Linked DNA regions of Homo sapiens: all the other regions are linked to region 2. The links are contacts of gene promoters, found by promoter capture Hi-C in blood cells and fetal thymus (Javierre and others, 2016). All regions are on one chromosome and are shown on one strand. The core of a region is centred on a gene start or on the middle of the fragment in contact, and the rest is flanking DNA. Distances in the headings are between cores, read along the strand shown. Region 1 has its middle 17 kb from the start of ANP32D. Region 2 holds the start of TMEM106C (transmembrane protein 106C). Region 3 holds the start of ZNF641 (zinc finger protein 641).

Region 1 (3,526 bases), core at 558-3,057, 490 kb after region 2:
GCTAGAAATTTAAAGATAATGAAGAGCCAGGATTTATCCTCAAGTTTATTTAAACCTAAGGTATCTTTTAAAGAATAAAACAAAATATTTTGCACATTGCCTGTATCAAACACACACACACAATATATATGAAACATATAAGCATAATATCATATATCTATATTCATCTATCTACCTACCTATCCATATCCATATACATGTAATCGTTCACAGCTCATTTATTCTGACCTTGAGAAAACAAAGAAGGTGATATTTTACTTCTCAACCAAACTGAAAAAAGAAGTGCCTTCTTTTGATTTAGATTCATTGTACTTGAAGCCTTCTGTAACTTTGGAGCATCAGGATACCATGAGGTCAGGGAACTCCTGTTATTGTTGAAAAATAAATCAGGGGCTCTAAATTATAGGAAGGAAAATCAAGACAGTTCTCTCTCTCTCTCTCTTTTTTTGTTTGTTTTTTTTTTTTTTTTTTTTGAGACGGAGTCTCACTCTGTTGCCAGGCTGGCGAGAAGTCGTGCGATCTCAGCTCACTGCAACCTCTGCCTCCTGGGTTCAAGTGATTCTCCTGCCTCAGCCTCCTAAGTAGCTGGGACTACAGGCATACACCACCACATCCAGTTAATTTTTTTTGTATTTTTACTAGAGACAGGGTTTCACCATGTTGGCCAGGATAGTCTCCATCTCCTGACGTCGTGATCTGCCCACCTCGGCCTCCCAAAGTGCTGGGATTACAGACTTGAGCCACCGCACCCGGCCAAGACTGTTCTTTAATTCGATTAATCAGATTGGACAGGCTGCATAGTCATTTTTACCTGACATAGAAAAAAGATGAAGACTATCACAAACTGCAGGCAGATTAGAAAGGCCTAGGAGATGTGGGGTTTGCCTGAGCAGGTCTGATTGCTAAGAATAAAGCCTGTGGCCTGCTTTCTGTCCTCCTGCCCCTTCTTCTCTATCTCTTTCCTTCTTTATTTAATGCAGCCTCAGAGGAAAGTTATGCAGCATAAAATAAGTGTTAAAAGAAAAATGCAAAATTATACTTTGACTCTCTTTTTAAGATTGAAATTATTTCTTTGTAACATAAATTCCAAGTATCATATTTTACAAATACTGTTGGGTAACTATAGTAACTTAGTAAATGAAATATGCAAAGCTTAAGGTTGTAAGTCTAGGGAAGGCATTAGAATAAATATGCCAGCATCTTCAGACCTTACAGCTAGGACACTACTGCTTCCTTGTGGCTCAACTTTAGAATGACAAGTTTTGACTACTGCAAGTTTCTTCAAATCATAGGGGCTTCCTTTTGGGTTTGTTTTTCCTTCCAACTTTTAGGTTCAGAGGGTACCTGTGCAGGTTTGTTATGTGGGTAAATTGCGTGTCACTGGAGTTTGGTGTACAAATGATTTCATCATCCAGGTAGTGAGCATAGTACCAGACAGGCAGTTTTTCAATCCCATCCTCCAACCTCAAGTAGGCCCCAGTGTCTATTGTTCTCCTCTTTGTGTCCCTGTGTACTCAATGTTTACCTCCCACTTATAAATAAGAACATGCACGATTTGGTTTTCTGTTCCTGTATTAGTTCATTTAGGATAATGGCCACCAGCTGCATCCATGTTGCTCCAAAAGCCATGATTTTATTCTTTTTGATGGCAGCATAGTATTCTATGGTGTATATATACCACATTTTCTTTTTCCAGTCCACTGTTAATGGGCATCTAGGTTGATTCCATGTCTTTGCTATTGTGAAAAGCGCTGTGATGAACATATGCATACATATGTCTTTATGGTCAAATCAGAGTTTTGACTGCCAATTTTAAGCAGCTCACCAAACCCATGGCTTGGGATGCAGACAGAGTTGTTACAGATCTCAGAGAAACGTCAGCAGAACAGCAGTCTTTGTCAGAGACACAACCATATTCAGCCAAGTTTTTCTTTCAGATCTTCCAGGTTTTGGAGCAGAGAGGCTGAAGAAAAGATTTAAATAACAAGAAAACCTGGAGTTGAGCAGCACCTAAAGATCAGTGAGCAGCTCCAACATGATTGTACAGAAGAGCTAACAGGCACTGGAAGTCTAGAGAACAGGCAGAGATACCCCCTGCACTGTGTAAAATTATGAAAAATGTATCCATGAGGTAAGATTTGATACATACACATAAATGATCAAAATCTGTCCTTCATTGTCTGTTTGACAGTGAATAAGTTTCTTCGCCTTCTATTACTCAGTTGCCTTATTTATAGAACACTAACAATCATAGTAACTACTCAGTGAATTTTCACAATGGTTAAATAGTGATAATAATTAAAAAATAACGTGATTGAATCCTTACCATGTGCCATACGCTATTTTAAGTGTTTTACACTGATTATCTCATTTCTTCTCACAAAAAGTATAAGAGCATATAAAGCTCTTAGCTAATATTATGTCAGTAGTTTGTACTCAATAAATTATCATTTAAAAGTCTGTAAAGCTTTCTCTATATCTCAACGAAGTAGGGAAAACACATTTTTTAAGCAGCTCAGCCAACAACAATTGTTTTCCAGGCACTGTATTGGGCCCTGGGTATATAAAGACGAGTAGGAGAGAGTCTCTGCCTTTAAGACACTCACACTGTAATGAGGAATAAAGTTATACTGACAGCTGTAATGCAGTATAGTAAGTTATACTCTACCAGTGTGACAAGATTGCTATGGGAGTTCAGAGGAGGAAAAATTCAAGCTGTATCAAGTGGTCAGGGAAATAGTTACAGGAAAGATACCATTTGACCCTGCCTTATCTAGAGAAGCAAGTCTTAGAACGAGGAGTGGCAGAAGTCTTCCCGGCAGAGGAACCAGTTTAGTAAAGGAAGAGAGATGTGAACAGGTAGCATTTGAGATTAAGATCATGGACTCTGGAGCCAAAGAGGGTTAAATTTGAATCCCAACTCTGCTCCTCGCCTGCCGTGACCTTGGGAAAGCTATTTCTCTTTGTTTCTTTGCCTGGAAAATGGCTTTGACAATTGTTCTCCATGTTAGGTTGGTTGTGAGGATGAAATGAGATGTTCACATAACATTTAGCATATTGTCTAGCCCATTAGTGCTGTGTTATTATTAATATATTTCCCTCTGTCTAGGTTCTCATCAGTTGAAAAAACTGAACTATCTGTTAATTATCAGCTTTTTTCTTCTTTGGCAAGCAGAATAAACCACATTAAATGCACACATCAATTGTAAGAAGCAGCTGAATCTCAGAAACACCAAAGTACGAAAAGTGTGCATCTTCAAATCAAGGAAAGCATATTATCACCATTATGAGGACCAGTCTGCCAAGAATCTTTCATAGGATGCTGAATATTTAGATGTGATCCTACTGTTAAAATCTTTCCTTTCTTGGTGGTTTCTAGATACTTTGTAGCTCCTAAATCATGCATTAAGTTTAGTGTGTAGTTACTTGTGTCTGTCTCCCCTATTAATATGTGGTCTCTGTGTAATATGTCCCCAGCACATCGTGGGTAATCCATAGACTATGAAATTAAATGGAATCAGACCAA
Region 2 (3,455 bases), core at 902-3,401:
ATTCTCAAAAGCACTCCGTATGCTCAAACACCATATTTTGGGGAATCGTTTTCTGTGACCCAACAGATGAAAAAAAAAAAAACATTTCAAGAAGGAGAAGAGGTGGATCAGAGATGTGAGAGGGGAAGTAGAGGGTCCTTGTTGCCTCTTACTAAAGACTCAGTGGGCTGATTGTGGCCAGTGGTCAGGCAGATGGCTAGACAACAGCAGGTACATTGGCATTCCCCACAGGAGAAAGAGGAAAATACAGAGGTGGCAGAAACCTGAGGGGTCACCAGCCTCAGCCTCACTCTCTATTGCCAAGTGGGCCCCTTATTCATCCCATTTCAGAATATCTCCTCTCCCCTAGCATCATCTTTAATAATTTCACCTGGTTAATGTCTGTACTCAACTCCTGCTGCTGCAGGCTAAGCTCAACCTGGCAGTATGAACAAAGAAACCCACCCATTAAAAAGTACCCTCTAGGCCGGGCACAGTGGCTCACGCCTGTAATCCCAGCACTTTGAGAGGCCAAGGTGGGCAGATCACCTGAGGTCAGGGGTTTGAGGCCAGCCTGGTCAACATGGTGAGACCCGGTCTCCACTAAAAATACAAAAATTAGCCAGGTGTGGAGGTGTGCGCCTGTAATCCCAGCTACTTGTGAGGCTGAGGCAGGAGAATCGCTTGAACCCGGGAGGCGGAGGTTGCAGTGAGCTGAGACTGTGCCACTGTACTCCAGCCTGGTCGACAGAGCAAGACTCCATCTCAAAACAAACGAACAAACAAACAAACGAACGAAAAGTGCTTTCTAACCTCTTACGTACGTGCCTTTTTTGTGGAGGTCTGGGGAAGGGGGGGCCCTACTACCGAATGAATCTACTCCTTGGTGCCTCTTGGCACCTAATTGGCTTGCAAAGCTCAGCTGTGGGGTCCGTTCCTGCGAGAAGCCAGCAGGACTCCCCATGGAAGGTTTCCCCCAGGCTGGGCCCCTCTGACTTGTGAGACTTCCAGCAGCACTTTTATCTACAGTATTGGAGGGGTCTGATGAAGCCTCTGGGTTCCCCTCCTGGACTGAAGACAGGTTCTGATATAATTGCCGGACGGGTTCTCCTTGCCCGTTGCCCAGAGCTGATTCATCAAGACAGGGGAATTGCAATGGAGATTTTAATTCATGCAGAGCCGGCTGAATGAGATACCAGAGTTTTATCACTCAAATAAGTCTCCCCGATAATTCAGAGACTGGGGTTTTTTAAGGATAATTCGGCTGGTAGGTATCAGGCAGTGGGGAGTGCTGATTGGTCAGGTTGGAGATGAAATCATAGGGGGGTCTAAGTGGGTTCTTCTTGCTGTTTTCTGTTCCTGGGTGGGATTGCAGAACTGGCTGAGCCAGATAACTGGTCTAGGTACTGCCAGCTGGTGCCTCAGAATGCAGGGTCTGAAAAATATCCCCAGCACCGATCTTAGATTTTACAATAGTGATGTTATCCCTTGGAGCAATAGGGAAGGTTTGGAATCTTGTGACCTCTGTCTGGATGACTCCTAAACCATAATTTCTAATCTTGTGGCTAATTTGTTAGTCTTACAAAGGCAGTCTGGTCCCCAGGCAAGAAGGGGGTTTGTTTTGGGGAAGGGCTGTTATCTTTGCTTCGAAGTTCAACTATAAACTAAATTCCTCCCAAAGTTAGTTTGGCCTATACCCAGGAATGAACAAGGGCAGTTCGGAGGTTAGAAGCAAGACGGAACTGGGTAAGTCAGATCTCTTTCACTGTCATAATTTTCTCACTTACAATTTTTGCAAAGGCAGTTTATCCGAATGCTCCGCATGTGTGTACCCTCAGCGACTACACAGCTCCTGTACTATAAAGAATATTTCAGAATGGCTTCGGTAGCCGGCAGCACCTTCCTCCTCTCGCAGCAGAGAAGTGTTTTGCTCTGGAAACTTGACTGGAGCCTTTCCCAGCCTATCTAGCGAACAGCAGAGCATCATCCCGACTCCGCGGACTACCGCGGCCCAACAGCAAGGGTCGCGGCTCCCCGGCGCTCTCTGCCGCCCTCTACCGGAACCGAGGGAGCCAGACAGCTGCGATATTGGGAAGGCCTCCGGAGCCGCGAAGAGCGCACGCGCGAGCGCGCGCCCGCGTTCTCCTGGCGGGCTTGGTATTTGGCGCCTGCGCGCTGAGTGCGTGCCGCTCCGCCGACCGAAGAGGCTGGTAAGTCCTCAAGCTGGCAGGTGGTCGGGGGAGCGGCCGGAGAGGAGCTGCCGGGAGTTCGTGCCCTGCAGGTCTGCGACGCTGGCGTTCGCTCCTGCCTGGGCCACTTTGGTGGGCTCAGAGCATCGCTTTTTGCCAAGGGGCGTGACCTGAGCCCGCCTCCTGGGGCTGGGGGGTGGAGAGGAATGGGAATCGTTAAGGCCGGTTATCAATTTGGTGCCTGTTTGTTGCTCGAGGAGGGGCATAGAGCTTACAAATAGTGAAGAGGAAGGGGCGAGGCTGGACCAGGTGGGAGCGGGGGTGCCCCAAGTCCCAGGGCGGTGAGGATCGAGGCAGGTGCGTGAAAGGCAGGCCCCGTTCCCCCTCCCCACCCCCGCCGGCTGTGTGTGGCGGGTAAGAGGAGAGTGGGTAGCACTACTACAAAATGAGGGTCCCGATAGAAATCGTACAGGTGTTGGGACCACACTCAGGGCGGCAACTTGTCATTTTTGCGTTTTTAATTTTCTTATAGAAACAAGCGATTTCTGTCGTGATTCACTGGGGCCGCTAACGTGCACTCCCTCTTTTCATCTTAGGACATGACACCAGTGGCATATCACGGCCATGGGGTCTCAGCATTCCGCTGCTGCTCGCCCCTCCTCCTGCAGGCGAAAGCAAGAAGATGACAGGGACGGTTTGCTGGCTGAACGAGAGCAGGAAGAAGCCATTGCTCAGTTCCCATATGTGGAATTCACCGGGAGAGATAGCATCACCTGTCTCACGTGCCAGGGGACAGGCTACATTCCAACAGGTGATCATGGAGGGATGATTCCCTGATGAGAATCCCAAGGTACCCTCGGAGTTCTCCTGTCTGCCCAGACAACTTTTCTTCTAGGCAGTAATACCATAATAGAGACAGTGCCCTGGACAGGAGCCAGCTCAACTGACTTAATACACTTGGGCAGTTCTGCAACTTCTCTTCCTCTCCTTATTTTTCCAACCCTTTCTTTTCTTTACCGCCACTCTTGTTCTTTTCCTGAGGTTTGGAACATTCAGTTCGCTCTGTGTTGTGGGATTTGTTGACAGGCACATTTCTTTATCGCTGTCACAAGGATTGGGACAGCTTTGCGGGGGAACCATCTTGGAAGCTGCTTTTCAAGGAAATGGGTAGCTAATCCTTAACAGCCTAAGGTCAGAAAAATATATCAGGTCAAGAGAGAGAGACAAATACTTAGCCTTGGTACAGGATCATCTATTACTATTAACAAATTGGCCCTCAGAAAGTCT
Region 3 (3,420 bases), core at 826-3,325, 390 kb after region 2:
AAGAGTTTGAACCAGAGCTGGAAAAGGGGGGAAGAACTGCTGCTAACATGACCCAGAAGAACAAACCTGTTTATTTGTCAGGCACCAGTCAGATCTCATTAGAAAAATATATTCAGTTTGAAAGAAGCGTATGGTGAAGCCAGTGTGTGTTCATCAGAAAACATCAAAGTCAAGAAAGGGATTGGAAATACAGCCACTGGGAAAGTTAAAAATGTCGGATGTAGTTTTCTCTGTCTGGAGAAGAAGGCTGATGAATGATGCTACTAATGAATAAAAACAGAGGTCCCTTCTATCTCTATATAGGTCAAACAGAAAAAAATGGGTCTTGATTGCAAGAGAAGAGATTTAGGTTATTTTTTTTTAATTCTTAATAATCCTGCAGTGTACAATACCAGATAGTGGGCTCTTCTTTTTCTTTAGACAACTTAAGAGCAGGATGGGTCACACTTCTGTTGTGATAGGGCTTTATGGCAGAGAAATAATCTGAGACTCAGAATCTCTTTCTGTTTGGCAACATATTTTGGGTATTCTTATTCAATATCCAAACAGTCAGAGTCAGTGAAAGGCTTCCAAGAGCAGTCAGAAACTTGGTAACTATCCTGGCTTACTTACATCCTTTCAATAACACTTGCAAGAACCTTGAAGGCCAGGGTAGGTAATCACAGATGTCAAGTCGTCTATTTTCTTGCCTATTTGTCTTTGACAAAAGAGGTAGGTGGGAACCCTAAGCCCAATGCACAGGAAAAACAAATTCCCTTTTTATCTCAGAAGTCCAAAGATGGCTCAGGGCCTCATGGGAGCACCCTGGACTGATTCCCAGCCTAGGAGGTTTCCTTTTCAGAGACTTTTCATGAGAAAGGAAAATTCTTGCTAAAGCAATAAAGGGAAACTTCCATTTTAGCTCTCTTCTCTGAATTCCAGCTCTGTATCCACTTTTAACACACAGGGCACTAATTCTCCCTCTTCGTCCCATCTTTCTGGTTCTCTAGCTCCTGTGCAAATCCTCCCTGAAGGCTTTACCTCTAGCTACATATCTGGACACTTGTCTCAAACCCTTTCTCCATCTCCCCCAGGTAGCAGAGTCTCTTAATGGGAAGCCTCTTTGTGCAGAGCCCATTGGGCCAGCTGTAAGTTTTTCTATACCACTGACAGAAATCCGTGGAAGTGCTAGCAAAAATCTCAGCAAAGGATGGGATGGGTACCTGTCCTCAGCTTGCATTTCCTAAGATATTCACGCAGAGCCAGCACCTGGGCGGTTAAGGTGGTAGCCCTAACCTCGTTTCTCCTGGTTCCAGGATGATCCCATGCCCACTGCAGTGTGGGTTCTAGGGCTTTCATTTCCCCCTTTTCTTCACACATATGGGTAGCAAGGGACCTGCAAAAGGAAGTTTCTGCAGCCAGTGCTGATGAACAGAAAAGGGGCCATGTTATAAAAATGAGTAGCCCAAGGGCACACGGACGAGTTGGCTCCGTCCATCAGAGAACCCTGGCCCCTGCCACGGGTAGGGCATGGGCGGGACGGGAGCCTGCTCAGGGGTAAGGTTGCTTCTTCCCTTCTTCTTGTCACAGTGCCCCTGGAAAGGGTCAGATTTCAGAGAATCCGAGCAAGGCAGAACTGGAGCAGGGGAAGTGAGGTCAGAAAACAGGTTTCCCATGAGCTGGGGCATGAGCAAGTGAAGAGAAAGGGAGCCACGGGGTAACCTGTGCGCGAGTGACAGCGGCGGGAGCCCGCAGGGCCTGACAGTTGCGATGGGCACGGGGAGACAGGGCGAGAGGCGGGCACAGAATGTCAGCGGGGCAGACCCCCGGGAAAGGCAGCAACCCGGAAGACGCGCCGATCCTCCTCCCAGCCCCTATGGGTGACCGAGCCCCCACCAGCCGCCCCGGGAAGCCAGGCGTCCCTCCCTCCAGCCGCAGCTCCCTCCGGCCCGGCTCCACTCACCCCCGGTAGGCTTGGCCCGCGGCCCGGTGCCTCCCTCCCGGGCGCCGCCTGCCCCTCCCCTCCGCCCTCCGCTTGCGTCTGGGAGCCGGCGGCCGGCGGAGCCAGCGACAGGCGGAGACGGCGGCCCGGCAGGCGCGGGCGGGGCGGGGCGGGCACAGGAAATCCCCGCCCGCTTCCGGGGCTCTGCGGCGGCGGAGGTGCGGGGAGTGGGAGGGAGAGGAGTGGGAGGGAGAGGAGTGGGAGGGAGGGAGGGAGGGAGGGACGGGAGGGGGCGGGGCTGCGGCTCAGGCGCCCCCAAACGCGAACCCGGGACCTCCGCGCCCGCCGCTGTGGGGAGGGTGCGGCCCGAGACGCTTGGAGGGCGGCGGGCGCCGGAATCGCAGCCTGCTGTGGCCACTTGCCCGCACTCTTGCCTGACTGACCATTTTCCGCTCTGGCTACTGGGCCTCCCACGGAGTTCTGTCCTCAGGGTTCGTCAATTACCTGGAATTGCGTAACCGCCCGTTACAGGCCAGACCGAGGCCGAGAGCGATTTCTCCAGACAACAGTCTGGAATTCCTCAAGGAGCGTACCCTCTAGTTTTCACGATAGGATAAAGGGCTTGAGAGAGCACTGAGGAGGAGTCACTTATTCTGCCTGAGGGGAAGTCAGGTTGCTATCTGAAGTTGGCCTTGCGGCTGCTGTCCCATTTGCGGGAGCCGTAGCCGCAGGTGACACCTGAGCTCTCGAAATGTGGCTGGTCTGAATAGAGATGTGTTCCAAGATTTAGAAGATTTAATTTAAAAAGTGATATTTTGGGTATATTGGGTTAAATATATTAAAATTAATTTCACCTGGTTTTAACTTTTTAAATGTGGCTATAAATATGGCTTGCATTATATTTCTATTGGATAGTGCTACCTTGCAGCATTAAGATGGATTTGACTAGAAAAGATGAGAAGGGCCTACAAACAGTGAGTAAACCCATTGCTGTTAGAATCTGTTTATAACCTACAAGTCACATTCACATTCCTTATTTCATCATTACAACAATTTTCAAAAATTTTATTTAGTAGACTTAAAAAATAATTGACTCACTTAAGGTCATATGTGACAATCATTCGTTTAATGCATATTTATTTTCTACGTGTGCCAGACACTGTAACTAAATGCTGGGAGTTAAAGGATTCACAGTCTGGGGAAGCACATGTCAACAAATATTTGCAATAAAAACGTAGATTCTAAAACAGAGGAACGTACGCTGCACTTGAAGCAAAGAGAAGTGACCACGTATGGGACGGAGGTCAGAGAAGGCCCCCCACTCTGACAGAAATCGTGAGGCAGAGAAGAGTCAGGAGGGCTGTCTAATGAAAGAGGAAAATGCAGTAGACACGCAGTTGGGAAGAGTATAGAGCATATTCTAGGAGCAGATCATGGGATATGTCGGGGTAGTAGTAGAGCCAGAATTTTTATCCCGGGTCCTGGAACTAAGTCCAGGG

What was found. The method cuts DNA at HindIII sites, captures the fragments that hold promoters and counts their contacts. A CHiCAGO score of 5 or more calls a contact.
Region 1: a contact is called between a fragment that was not itself captured here and the fragment with the promoter of TMEM106C in region 2, in 1 of 17 cell types (M2 macrophages). The highest score is 7.2, in M2 macrophages.
Region 3: a contact is called between the fragment with the promoter of ZNF641 here and the fragment with the promoter of TMEM106C in region 2, in 8 of 17 cell types (non-activated CD4 T cells, neutrophils, fetal thymus and 5 more). The highest score is 11.7, in non-activated CD4 T cells.

What each region holds. Positions count from the first base shown.
Region 1 is chr12:48,453,644-48,457,169 of GRCh38, forward strand. It overlaps a transcript of C12orf54 not described here. Among named protein-coding and RNA genes, the nearest start is that of ANP32D, 17 kb to the right of the region's middle. The HindIII fragment of the contact is 1,315 bases long and covers 1,151-2,465 here.
Region 2 is chr12:47,961,445-47,964,899 of GRCh38, forward strand. It overlaps TMEM106C (transmembrane protein 106C), which reads left to right and starts at 2,152. Exons shown (of 8, transcript NM_001143842.2): 1 at 2,152-2,260; 2 at 2,765-2,979. The coding sequence starts at 2,793. The HindIII fragment of the contact is 3,638 bases long and covers 1-3,455 here.
Region 3 is chr12:48,348,844-48,352,263 of GRCh38, forward strand. ZNF641 (zinc finger protein 641) reads right to left here and starts at 2,076. Exons shown (of 6, transcript NM_001172681.2): 1 at 1,943-2,076. RefSeq lists enhancers at 1,587-1,656, 2,095-2,831 and silencers at 1,797-2,226, 2,507-2,586. The HindIII fragment of the contact is 6,093 bases long and covers 1-3,420 here.